2 separate regions of the Homo sapiens genome follow, and region 2 is linked to region 1. The links are contacts of gene promoters, found by promoter capture Hi-C in human tissues and cell types (Jung and others, 2019). All regions are on one chromosome and are shown on one strand. Each heading gives the region's core, a stretch centred on a gene start or on the middle of the fragment in contact. The rest is flanking DNA. Distances are from core to core; before and after follow the strand shown. Region 1 holds the start of ADRA1B (adrenoceptor alpha 1B). Region 2 overlaps RNF145 (ring finger protein 145).

Evidence for each region. Contacts are between HindIII fragments. The study calls those that stand out against the background at their distance.
Region 2: a fragment that was not itself captured here is called in contact with the fragment with the promoter of ADRA1B in region 1 in 1 of the 25 tissues and cell types used here (mesendoderm cells).

The regions. Positions count from the first base shown.
Region 1 is chr5:159,913,020-159,919,037 of GRCh38, reverse strand. ADRA1B (adrenoceptor alpha 1B) reads right to left here and starts at 2,556. Exons shown (of 2, transcript NM_000679.4): 1 at 1,184-2,556. The coding sequence starts at 2,132. RefSeq lists enhancers at 1,366-1,982, 1,983-2,599 and a silencer at 2,663-2,722. The HindIII fragment of the contact is 5,190 bases long and covers 157-5,346 here.
Region 2 is chr5:159,198,615-159,204,632 of GRCh38, reverse strand. It overlaps RNF145 (ring finger protein 145), which reads left to right. Exons shown (of 11, transcript NM_001199383.2): 2 at 977-1,199. The coding sequence starts at 1,016. Among named protein-coding and RNA genes, the nearest start is that of RNF145, 7.9 kb to the left of the region's middle. The HindIII fragment of the contact is 5,582 bases long and covers 529-6,018 here.

The DNA of each region.
Region 1 (6,018 bases), core at 1,307-3,806:
AGAATTTATAGCTGTTTGAGGGATTTGGTTATATTTGGGTCTGACCTGAGACTCCGGTGTGATTGCAGGCATATGTGGTCCGCAGTATAGCAGCTGTTACCTCTCCTGATATCATGGCACATGACTGTGTCATGATAAACTCCCTCCATTCATTTTCTGTAGTGTCCCCCAGGGATAGGAGAAGGAATCAAAGCAGATCAGTGCCTCAGAGGAAGGACAAGGGATCCCCAGGCCATGTGGACAGCATGTGACAGATGCCCCCCTTTAGGTTTACCTGCTAACCAGACCTTGGCTTCTTCCTTAGAAAACATCAGGTAGCCTTTTGAACAATTCAGTTAGTAGGACCACCAAACAAAAAGAAGACGAACATGTTTTCATAAGAGGGGGAGGACGCACTGAATTCCATCTTACCAGGATTTGGTCTCTGTCAGCTGAGATGAGGGACAACTATAATTTGATTCTGGGCATTCCATAAATCACTAGAGTTAGAAACATTTTTGGGTAAAAACTAAAAATGTGTGACCCTCTAGTCATCTTCTCTTTCACATCTCAAGCTTTCAATAACTTAAAGGCTGGTTGGGGCTGTGTGGCTGTAAAATGCTCTTATTAACGGATAATGAACGTAGTATATCTGGGTGATAGCTGTCAGTGAAGAGGGGAGGGAGAGAATGCAGCCTCTGCAAAGCTCTTGAGAAGCGTGGCTTCTGCTCTAGCCCTGGAAATGCTGAATGAATGCTGCCTTTCTGTGTACGAGCTGCCTCCCTGCTTCCCAAATGCCGCGTCTGCAGTAACTACAAACTATTTTGTATGCTGCATTAGTGACGCTGCCTTAGCCGACACATCATTACTACTGAAATAACGCCGGTGTGATATTCAAGCCCAGTGAATATCCTTTTTAATTATTAAACCGAGGCTGTTGAGTGAGTCATTCCTCATACCAGATTTTCCTTCCCTGGTTCTATTTCCAGAAGCTAGTGCCTTAGCGTGTTCTACTAACACCTGAGTTGGTTTTTAGCCAGCTCCCCAATCTGCAAACCCTTTGCAGAACAAACAATATTATTCAATCTCCGAACACGCACAGACTGCATAAGAAACAAAACCCACAAAAAACTTTAGAGTAAGCTCATCAGTAAACCCAAGGTCCAAAAATGCCCAGTCCCCCTGCTGCTAGTCCCCAACTTACCAAGCGGTAGAGCGATGAAGAAGGGTAGCCAGCACAAGATGAACATACCGACCACAATGCCCAACGTCTTAGCTGCTTTCTTTTCCCTGGAGAACTTAAAAAGTTTGACAGCTATGGAACTCCTGGGGTTGTGGCCCTTGGCCTTGGTACTGCTAAGGGTGTCCTCGTGAAAGTTCTTGGAATGGATCCTCAGGGTCAGCTCCTTGGAGTTGGACATCTCCTTCATGACTCCTGCCTCTAGGTTCTTGGTGGTTCTCTTGGCCACTATATAGACACGGCAGTACATGACTAGAATGACCGCCAGAGGGATGTAGAAGGAGCCCAGAGAGGAGAAGAGGGCATAGAAGGGTTCTTCGGTGACCCCGCACTCCTTGTCATCGTTGGGTGCCGGCTCCTTCCACCCAAGGAGAGGCCCGATGGAGATGACGGTGGACAAGACCCAGACACTGAGCAGCGCCAAGATGGCCTTCCTCCGGGTGACCAGCGTGGGATACTGCAGAGAGTAGCGCACCCCGATGTAGCGATCGATGGAGATGGCGCACAGGCTCAGAATGGACGCTGTGCAGCACAGGACATCCACGGCTGCCCAGATGTCACAGAAGATCCGCCCCAGCACCCAGTAGCCGAGCACCTCTAGGGCCGCTGAGAAGGGCAGGACGGTGAAGCTCAACAGCAGGTCGGCCATGGCCAGGTTGACAATGAAGTAGTTGGTGGGCGTCCGCAGGTGCCGGTTGCAGGCCACAGACAAGATGACTAGGATGTTGCCCACGATGGCAAAGAGGATGAAGGCGCCCAGCACCAGGCCCACAGAGATGGCCCTGGTGATGTCCAGCTGGGGCAGTGTGGAGTTGCTCGAGGTCTGGTTGGGGCCAGTGAAGTTGGCATTTTTCAACTCTCCCCAGTGGGCAGGTGCTGATGTGTTGTGGCCGGTGTCCAGGTCGGGATTCATCTTAGAGTCCGCCCTCCATAGCCAGGGGGATGATTGGGCTCGGAAGGGCTGCGGCGAAGGCTCCTCAGCTGCCCTGAAACTTTGCTTCCCCCGTGGTCTTCTTCCCAGAGGCGCCCTCCTGGCGAGGAGTCATCTCCCCCGGGCAGCCCAGCCCGGCAGCACGTCTCCTGCCTGCACCGAGTCGCTCGCTCGCCTGTCAGAGGGAGGAGGAGGAGGAGAGGGGACGAGGCGGCAGCTCCAAGTTTAATGGTCCACGTCAGGCGCGCCTGGCCGGGCTCGCGGGGGAGCGGCGGGGAGGAGGGGGCGGCAGGGCCGGGGGCGCCCGGCGGTGCCCAGCTCGCTCGGGTCTGCGGACCGCGGCGCGTCCTCCGCCCAGCGAGCGCCGAAGAGGGTCTGCTTTCAATGAGCCGCTTCTGGGCTGACTGCACGGCGGTGACATCAGGCGGGGGAGCCCGGCGCCCTGACTCCGCGCGGCACTAGGGGGCAATGCGGGTCCAGCCAAGGCGCCCGCAGCCCCGACGCCGCCACCCCGCAAGCCGGGAAGCCAGCCGCGTCCCCCGCCGCTCCCAGGGCGCGCCCTCTGCGGGGGGCGGGGCGGGGGCAGGGGCCGCGAGGGCGGGACCTGGGCGTGGAGATCGCGGGTCACCCACCCCTAGGCGGCCCGCTGGGGTTATTTTCCCCGCTAGTCACTCTTCCGTGTCAAAGGTGGGTTGGGGGCTGCTTACCTTTAATAGGGGGCTCCCGGAGTGGGCCCCGGATTTAACGGGATATGCAACTTGTCCAGCACCTAAAAGAGGGAAAGAGAATTCTAGGATTGGGCAGGTGGGAGGGACTTGAGTCGGATCTGAGGCCAGCCCTCATCCTTCATCTGGCTCCCCTCGCCCCGTGCAAACTCTTTGGCCCCAGTAAAATCTGGCTTCTCTTCATCCTTTCATTCGCTCAGGCATTCACTCATTTATTCAGCCGATTCTTACGGAGTCTCCACTCTCTGCCCTGGCTCTGGGCGCTGTGAACATAGCAACTGAACAAAATAGACGGACTCCTGCCCTATAGGAGCGTAGCTTCTCCCGACAGAAGACAGACAGTATACTAAATAAGCAAATGATGAGGTGTGTAATGTGATGACAGGTGTTAGGCTGAAAATAAAGTAAGGAGGGGGAAATGCAGTGGGGTGTTTGTGGGGTGGATTTGAAATGTTAAGTGGGTGCTTGGGATGTCACTGAAGTGATATTTGAGGAAACATGAAGGGAATTGAGGGAGGAAGCTAGCTGGCTATCTGGGAGTGGGGGTGAGGGAGGTCAGAGACCTGGGGAAGGGACGTAGAGGATCTTGGTTATTTGTTGAGTTTTTTCCTTTCTGTCTGATATCCATGTTGGACATTCAGTCACAGGGACGCACTCCCAAAGGTGGGTGAATGGTACTTAGAAGAGAAAGTATGGGCCAAGAAAGAAAGAAAGAAAAAGCCAAAGAACTTTATGTTAGTTCACATTTATCCAACATTTATTTTGTCCTAGACAGTGTGCTGAGTTCTTTTTGCATTTTCTCATGACTCTCATGAGAGAAAGAATACACTCTTCACCATTTCTATTTCATGGATGAGACACCAAATTATGGGGAAGTTTAGCTGTTCGCCCAAGTTCACAAAGGCATGGAGGAGAGCTGCTGGGAACTGAACTCAACTGTGGGGTCTCTCCCAAAGTTGGGTACTCAGCTACTGTGTCATACTTTTCCCCCGGGGCAAGGTAGGGGATGGAACCACTGTTATAGATGGAGCTGCCTTTTGAGTAGTTAATTTTGGGGCCTGAGCCACTGGTGCTGGGCAGGGACTCCCATGAATTGAGCGCTTACTGATAGCCATGCATTTACTCAGTTTCTTTGAGACTTTACAATTCTTTGAGAGAAGCATAACCATTGTTCATTGAGAGATGAGAAACAGTGGTTCAGAGAGAGTCAGTTGATTCCTGAGGTCATAGGCTAGCAAATATATGGCAGAGCAATGGGCAGTGGCAGCTGGAGATTGAAAAGTAAAGCCTGATACCTTCTTTTACTCCAGTTCACAAGCCTGCATCTTGGGTTTCTCACCTTCTGCTCTTGATACTTGTTATAACTTGATATTCACGGGTGGGGAAAACAGAAGTCACTCAGGATGACTTACATCTAAGCTTCTCAACCTAGAGGTAAGCTCTTAACCTCTTTTTATTTTTATTTTTTGAGAAGGGAGGCAGGTGGTTATCATACACGTATCGAAGGTTTTAATTTACTCCCAGCAAAGTGCACAGACTCCACACATGTGCAAAATACACAATTTCAGGGGGTTTCCCTCGGGTTAAGAAATCTGTGGTAGAGACAGTCCTGAAAATGGATTATTTTCTATTATAATTAAATTGCCCTAAGCTGTATTTGAAGATTTGATAATAAGAGATTCACAAGTTTATAGTGATTTAGATCTTCAGAAGCTCTCAGAACCTTGGTTTGCTTATCTTCCTGTGTTGGAGGTGGTGCACTAGGGAAAGAGACTTGGCAAGATGGTCAGGAGCAGAGCTGGTTAGGAAACTCTGTTTCCCTGGCCTACAGGACAGTGCTCCTTCTGCTCCTGCAGCCACTCATGACCTACACAGTGGGGTGTGAGACTGGAAGAACTTGGCAGCCCTCTGTCAGGGGTCTTTATTAAAAGGAGAGGCTGTCATTGGTCCTGGGTGGCTCAGACTAGTCTGTCTGCAGATAGGACCTGGCTTAGATGATCTTTGAGATCCCGTAGCTCCAGGTGGTCAGCTTCTCTTGCTGGATAAAGTGGCCCCCGAAGGCACCTGCTATCCTTTCTCTCATGCATCTTCCAGGGTAGGGGTGAGAGTGAGGTATCATGAACTCAGTTCCCACCATTCCCAATGTATCATTAAGTCTAAGATAATGGGGCTTCTCTTGAGCTGGTTTACTTATAAGGGGAGAGGGAGGAGGAAGAGAATACCAGTAACCTGGCACGTAGCTGGCATTAGCACAAAGACAGGGGTGTAGGGGAGGGTAAGGGTGGGATAAAATAAAGAGCAAGTTCCAAATCCACATTTTGATTGTGGTGGCCCATTTCCCACTTCCCTGGGCATTAATTTCACCAGCTATTGAACAGCCAGCAACACACCATTGAATTTACTGAGGCTGTGTCTACATAATCACAGTAACCAGCTGCAATGTGAAAACTCAGCCTATCAGACATTTTTCTGTGGTGGCAAAAGGCCAGGATGAAAAAAAAAGAGCAAATCTGAGATTCAGAGATGGTTTATCCTCATTGTGAAAGAAAATAGTTTGTTACCTAGATGAGAACTTATGTCTTGATTCAGGTGTCAGGATGTGGAAGAAATTATTGAGCCAGATTGACAAGTTCAAAATCCTTGCAGATTTCAGACTTGTTGTCATTTACCAGTGTGTTTCGTGAAGGCAAAACAAAGATCTCACTGTAAGGGGAACAGGTATTAGCCTTAATAACAGCCGTGTAGCAGGACCCCACACAGCAACCTTTGCTAATGGTGCTTTCCTTGCTGCTCCTCCCCTTCCTTTGCTAGAGATGCCTCTTAACCCCTCTGGCTGATTTTTGACCCATGGACTTGACCATTTGTTTAGGTGTCATGAGAACACAGACGATATTTCATTTTCTCGGTACTCCCTGGGGCAAAGTCAAGCACAGAGCTCTGACTCACTCGACGCTTGTGGAAGAAGAATCTTTTCATTATCCATCTTATTGCATTAGAAACCTCTGATGTTGCAGAACTCCCATTTCTGCGAACCCTCCAGGGGAAGCTGCCACTGAAGTTGACCTGTAGAGAAACTGAAGCTATGGGAGATTCAAGGATCTGCTTAAGACATCTATGGGAGGAGATCTGTCACCTGTGATCAT
Region 2 (6,018 bases), core at 2,070-4,569, 720 kb after region 1:
GGAGTTTCACCATATTGGCTAGGCTGGTCTCGAACTCGTGACCTCATGATCTGCCTGCTTCGGCTTCCCAAAGTGCTGGGATTACAGGCGTGTGCCACTGCGCCCGGCCTTGTTTGCCCTATTTTATATTTTTTTGGATTAATTTGAAGTTCTACCATATAAAGCAGTATGGCATTGAATTGTCCCTTTAAATAGTAAATTGTCCTGATAACTGCCTTTCATTTCCTCCTCCCCCTGCCCCCCCCCACTACTTATCATGGTCTGTGCAGAGACAGGGGCTGCAGACTCAATGCCTGGCGTCTTCCATGTGCCTGCTTATCTGTGTATCAAGGGAAGAATTTGATGAACACTTGAAGGCAGATTATGGGAATTTTAGACCATATTTAACTTTAAAGATTCAAGGAAATGATATTGTAAATAATGTTCCCTCTACCTGTATCTACATCATGAGTTCTCTGGATTGTAAATTTAGCACTTCAATTTTGATTGTAAGTGAATAAGGAAAAGCATAGAGTACAAGATGCTGCAAACTAAACGTGCAGTTATCAAGTTTTTATTGAATTGCTTAGGCTTTTTCATAGAGTAAATATTCAAAATTCACCCTCTTATGAGCTACATAAATCATAGTTTTATTGGAGTGAGTGAATTTTTCAAGTTAATTTTATACAAGTTACAGTAGTCTTACAGAGTGTTTTGTTCCTAGATTTGGAGTTAGTGGCCTTTTAAAAAATTAGTTTTGAGGCCAGAACATTTAATCAGAATTATAAGATTGGACAGAACTGAATGGGTCAATGTGAAAACACAATACAGAGGTTATTTTATGAATATCTAAAAATAGTAGTTGTGGCTGAGAAGTAGTATACGTTCTCACATAGTTTTGTACAGTGTGTGACAACCTATTAGATTCGTGAAAGGGTATCTAAAAGCGATTTGTGTTGACTTTTTATTTTTATATATTGTGTCTTCTGAATTTTAGGTCTTCTCCAAGAAAAAAAAAAAGAAAAAAAAAAACAACATGGCTGCAAAGGAGAAACTGGAGGCAGTGTTAAATGTGGCCCTGAGGGTGCCAAGCATCATGCTGTTGGATGTCCTGTACAGATGGGATGTCAGCTCCTTTTTCCAGCAGATCCAAAGAAGTAGCCTTAGTAATAACCCTCTTTTCCAGTATAAGTATTTGGCTCTTAATATGCATTATGTAGGTGAGTGTCTACATCACATTTTCTAATCTTCTAGTGAGCATTCTGATTTATGTCTTAGTATCTTTTTGAATTTGGGTAAAATGAAGTTCATTTTCATTAAGATGATAGTGATATAGTTATTGATGAGTGTTTATGAATCTTGATAGTTTTGTCTTATCATTGCACATGAATTATTAAGGCTACAAGAAAGTAAGCAGTATTGGATTTATTTTACTGGATAAAACTGGAAGGCAGAAGAAAACATTCTAGATTTTAATATGATGAAATATAAACAATGAGAAATACTTTTAGAGACATTTGGCCCCTTCTAATTTGTCCTTGTTTTGGGGTTTGGTAGTAATTCAGAAAGTAAGCTTTTTAAAATGCAACATTCTTTATTGTTCCCTGAGATAAACGAAAACATTAACATCAGCTGAAGATAAAGTGTTCAGTTAAATGAAATTTGGGAAATGATACTATAATACTTTGTTCCATAAAAAAAATCCTCCTGGAACTATAATTTTTTTTTTTTTTGCTTGAATCCCCTTTCAAGAAAAATGGAACTATCATTGATATGCTATGGGGTTAGTGGTAAAAATAATGATAAGAGATTGAAGAAATTAAAGTCAAGAAATACAAGCATGAAACAGATAAAATTTACCTAGAATAAAAATCATGATCCTTACTTTTTAGGTTTTGGTTTATTTGTAATGTATATAGCAATATATTTTATTAATGTTGTGATTGCAGAGTTCCAGACATGGTTTGAATGGTACTATAGTGGTTTTGCTAATATTTTATTATTAGAGTTGCCTGTCACAAAATATATCTTTTATAAAGTCATGAAGAGTTGTCCTGTCTCTCTGAGATTTATTTTTATCACTTTCTGGGTTCTAAAACTTAGCCCTGAGAACGTTCCCCTTACATCCCTAAGAGGTAAGCTGTTGTGGAAAGAAGTATGATGTAGTAGAAGAGATGGTGCACTAGAAACAAAACGTTTCGGTTCAGTAAACTCATCTTTTGTGGATAGCACTACCTTGGGAATGTCTCTGAAATGGGAAAGTTCCTTTATGTTGCAAAACACTGTAATTCTCAGCCTTTTATGAAAGGCTTTGTATGTTAGCCAATTTATGGAAAGTAATTCCCGTCAGTTGTAGAACAACTGGGTACTTGGCTTAGATTTTTAGATTAATCAGCAAAGTCATACATACTGTGGTTTTAAAAATGTGCTTATATATTGTTTCTGAATAGGTTGAAATATTTATTATAAAAACAGCTGCCTGATAACCAGGAATATTAATTTTAGAAATTGAATGTTTTCGAGTACAATTGAAGTTCATAATCTGGTTTATAATTTTATAAAGTTAGTTGAGCCATCTTAAATATGCTTACTCCATGCCAAAGTAGAGTAAGCTCAGTGGTTGCATGAACAGATATTTTCAGCTTGAACAATGTTTTGGTTGGAGTTACCTTTGTCAAAATATTACATAGTGTTTATGTAATGCTCCTGTTTACAGAATTTCACCCTCAAATACAAATCAAATTTCACCTTAATAAAATAATGTATCTACATTCAGAAATAAAAAAGCATAAAAAGTATTTAATGAAAAGTATCTCCCTCCCATCTCTGTTACTCATTCGCTGAGTTCTCACTCTGAACACCATGTAGCTTTTATTTCTTTCTGTATAATTCTAGAGATATTTTTATGTATATATAAGTAAATATAAAAAATGTATATTTCCCCCCTTTTTATACAGATGTTAGCATGGTATACATGGTTTTGAATCATGGTTTTTGTTTGTGATGTATGTGGAGCCATAACTACTGCTTTTAGATATTTATGAAATAGAGTTTTGTGCTCTTTTTCTTATGATGACAGTCTGCCGGATCTTAAAGACTCTCTTGAGTAGATATCGAGGCCTCATTTCTCCTCTTCCCGATTGCATTTTACGTTGGCATAGTATCTTCGTATGGATATACCATAATTTATTGAACTAATTACTCCATTGGTGGACATTTTAGATAGCCTACCTTCTGCTATTTTGTACAGCGTTGTGCTAAATAACTTTGTATAGCTATAATTTCAACAAGTACAAATATAACCTGGGGCTAAGTTACTAGAAGCGAAGTTGCTGGGTTAAAGAGTACAGTGGTCCGTCGGTGTATGCTGGAAGTTGGTTCCAGGATGCCCACGTATACCAAAATCTGCGCATACTCAGGTCCCTCAAGTGACCCTGTGGAACTATGTATGCAGAAGGTTGGCCCTCTGTATACGTGGGTTTTGCATGTTGCAAATACTGTATTCCATAAGAGTTTGGTTGTAAAAAATCTACATGTAAGTGGACCCTCACAGTTCCATCCTATGTTGTTCAAGGGTTAACTTATATATATTTGTAGTGTTGACAGATAGTACTTTCCATAGGGTTTTACTATTTTGTACCTCCAAAAACCGTGGTTGAGAGTTCCTACAATCCTATATTATCAAAACAGCCTGTTACCACAAATATTTTGGCTACTCCAATAGGTGGAAAAATTGATTTTTTTAACTCAATGTAGTTTTAGTTTGCATTTCTATTATGAATGAATTGAACATACACATACTTAAGAAAAACCTGTATTTTCTCTTCTGAGAGTTGTCAGTTTATATACCCTGCCCACTTTTCTGTGAGATTCTTTTTTTACCAATTTGTGGGAATTTGGTATACATTAGGGAAATTAATCCTTTGTGATAAGTTGAAAATAGTTTTTCCAGTTTCAACTCAGTGATTTTGCTTATGATTTTTTGACATTTAGAAGGTTTTTAAGCTTTAGTATTTTGAGTCAATTAGAAAAGCCTTCTTTATTCTTGAGTTTATAAAGAATTCTGTTGTATTTTATCTTACTATTTTTGTGGGTTTATTTTTACATTTAAATCTTTGCTTCATTTATCTGTATGAATAGTGTGTTATAGGTATAATTTTATTTTTTCTAGATAACCACACAGTCATCCTCACCTATTTAGTCCATTTTTTTCTCATTATATACTGAATTCTCACATATATTTTGTTTCATTTTTGAACTTCTCTTCCTTTAGTCTGTCTGCCTGTTTGTGAACTATTAACACGCTGTCTTATTTGTTGAGGGTTTAGATTATATTTTACTGTCTAACAGGGTTAGTCCCTTCAGTTTTCTTTATTTCCTCCTCTGAGCTTTTTTTTTATGGTTAGTTTTCTATGTGAATTTAAGAATTGTCTCAAAATTGTCTAGGTCTCATTCCAAAAACAAAGCAACCCATTTGATTTTTTTTAAAATTTAGATTGCATTATTACTAATTTTGGGGGCAGGTGGGGAGGATGGGTTCTTGCTGTGTTGCCCAGGCTGGCCTGGAACTCCTGGGCTCAAGTGATCCTCCTGCCGCAGCCTCCTGACATTTATTGTTTCTAGGTATTTTATCTTTTTTATTGCTATCGTAAGTGGGAGTTTTTCCCCCTTTATGTCTTCTAATTGTAATTAAGGAGCTTAAAAATTAAGGGAGGGAGCAATAAAGTTTGTATTTAATGGAATGTAATTGTGTCTTCAAACTTAGAAGCTTTCCAGGGTGGGTTCTGCTGAAAGAGAAGTGACTGCCCACTGTTTTTTGGAGTGTAGGATATGAAAGGAGGAGTAGAAGTAATATTGGTAAGGTAGAATAGGGCTTTTGTGAAGAATCCTGAATACATACAGTAGATATGGTGCTTAATTCTATAGGTCGTGGTGGGTCAGTGGGGATTTTAGAGCAGGTGAGCTGCATTTTAAGATTGATTAGGCAGCGTTTTATAGGATGATGGATTGGGGAGGGGAGAAACTGGAGGTAAGAAGACCAGTTAGGATTTTAGGCAAGAGGTAATGAGAGCCAGAACTGGCAAGGTAGAAATTAGAAAGGAAGAAATGGATGCGAAAATCCTTTTGAAACTACCATCACTAAAATCATTAGTGACTTAAAATGTAAAATTCAACCCTCATTTATGTCCTAATTCTACAGACTTTTCTATGTTTATGGAGCTGTTTACCACTTCCTCTTTCTTGAAAGTGTTTTTTTTTTTTTTCCTGATTTTTCTCCTAACTCCCTGACCATTGCTTCTGATTCTTTTGATTTGTTTTCTTTAGACTTCTCAAGTGTTGATATTGCCCACAATTTGTGTTTAATTTTAATCTTTTGTTGTTTGGGTGACCGAACGTAGTTTGGGCTGCAGATCTCTGTCTCCACTTTACATTGCTTTTTGACCACTGTAGTCTGGAGTTGATGTTCTTCCTCTGTGATTCCATGGAACCAGTTCACATCTCTACCATAGCAATTATTATGTTGCATTCTAAGGGTCCATATGCTTATCTATTTTCCCAACTGTTAATAGATTGTGAGCTCCTTTAAGGTAAGAAGGGGGTTGTTTATTATCTCAGTATTCCCAGCACCTAGCTGGTGCCCAATAATGAATGAATTTTATATATATGTATGTATGTACGTGACAGGGTCTCACTCTTGCGCAGGTTGGAGTGCAGTGGTGTGATCATGGCTCACTGCAGTCTCAGACTCCTGGGCTCAAGTAACCCTTAGCTGCTGGAGTAGCTGGTACTACAGGCATATACCAAGGTCTTGTTTTGTTACCCAGACTGGTCTCAAACTCCTGGCCTAAAGTGATCCTCCTGCCTCAGCCTCCAAGAGTGCTAGGATTACAGATATTAGCCACTGTGCCCAGCCCTGAATGAATGCATTTTGAATTACTTCTTAGACATTTCCACCTAAATAGCCTATGGACATTTCAATTTGTTGTCAATCACTGAACTCATCACCTTTTTCTCACCTCAGAAGTCTTTCTCCTGCTG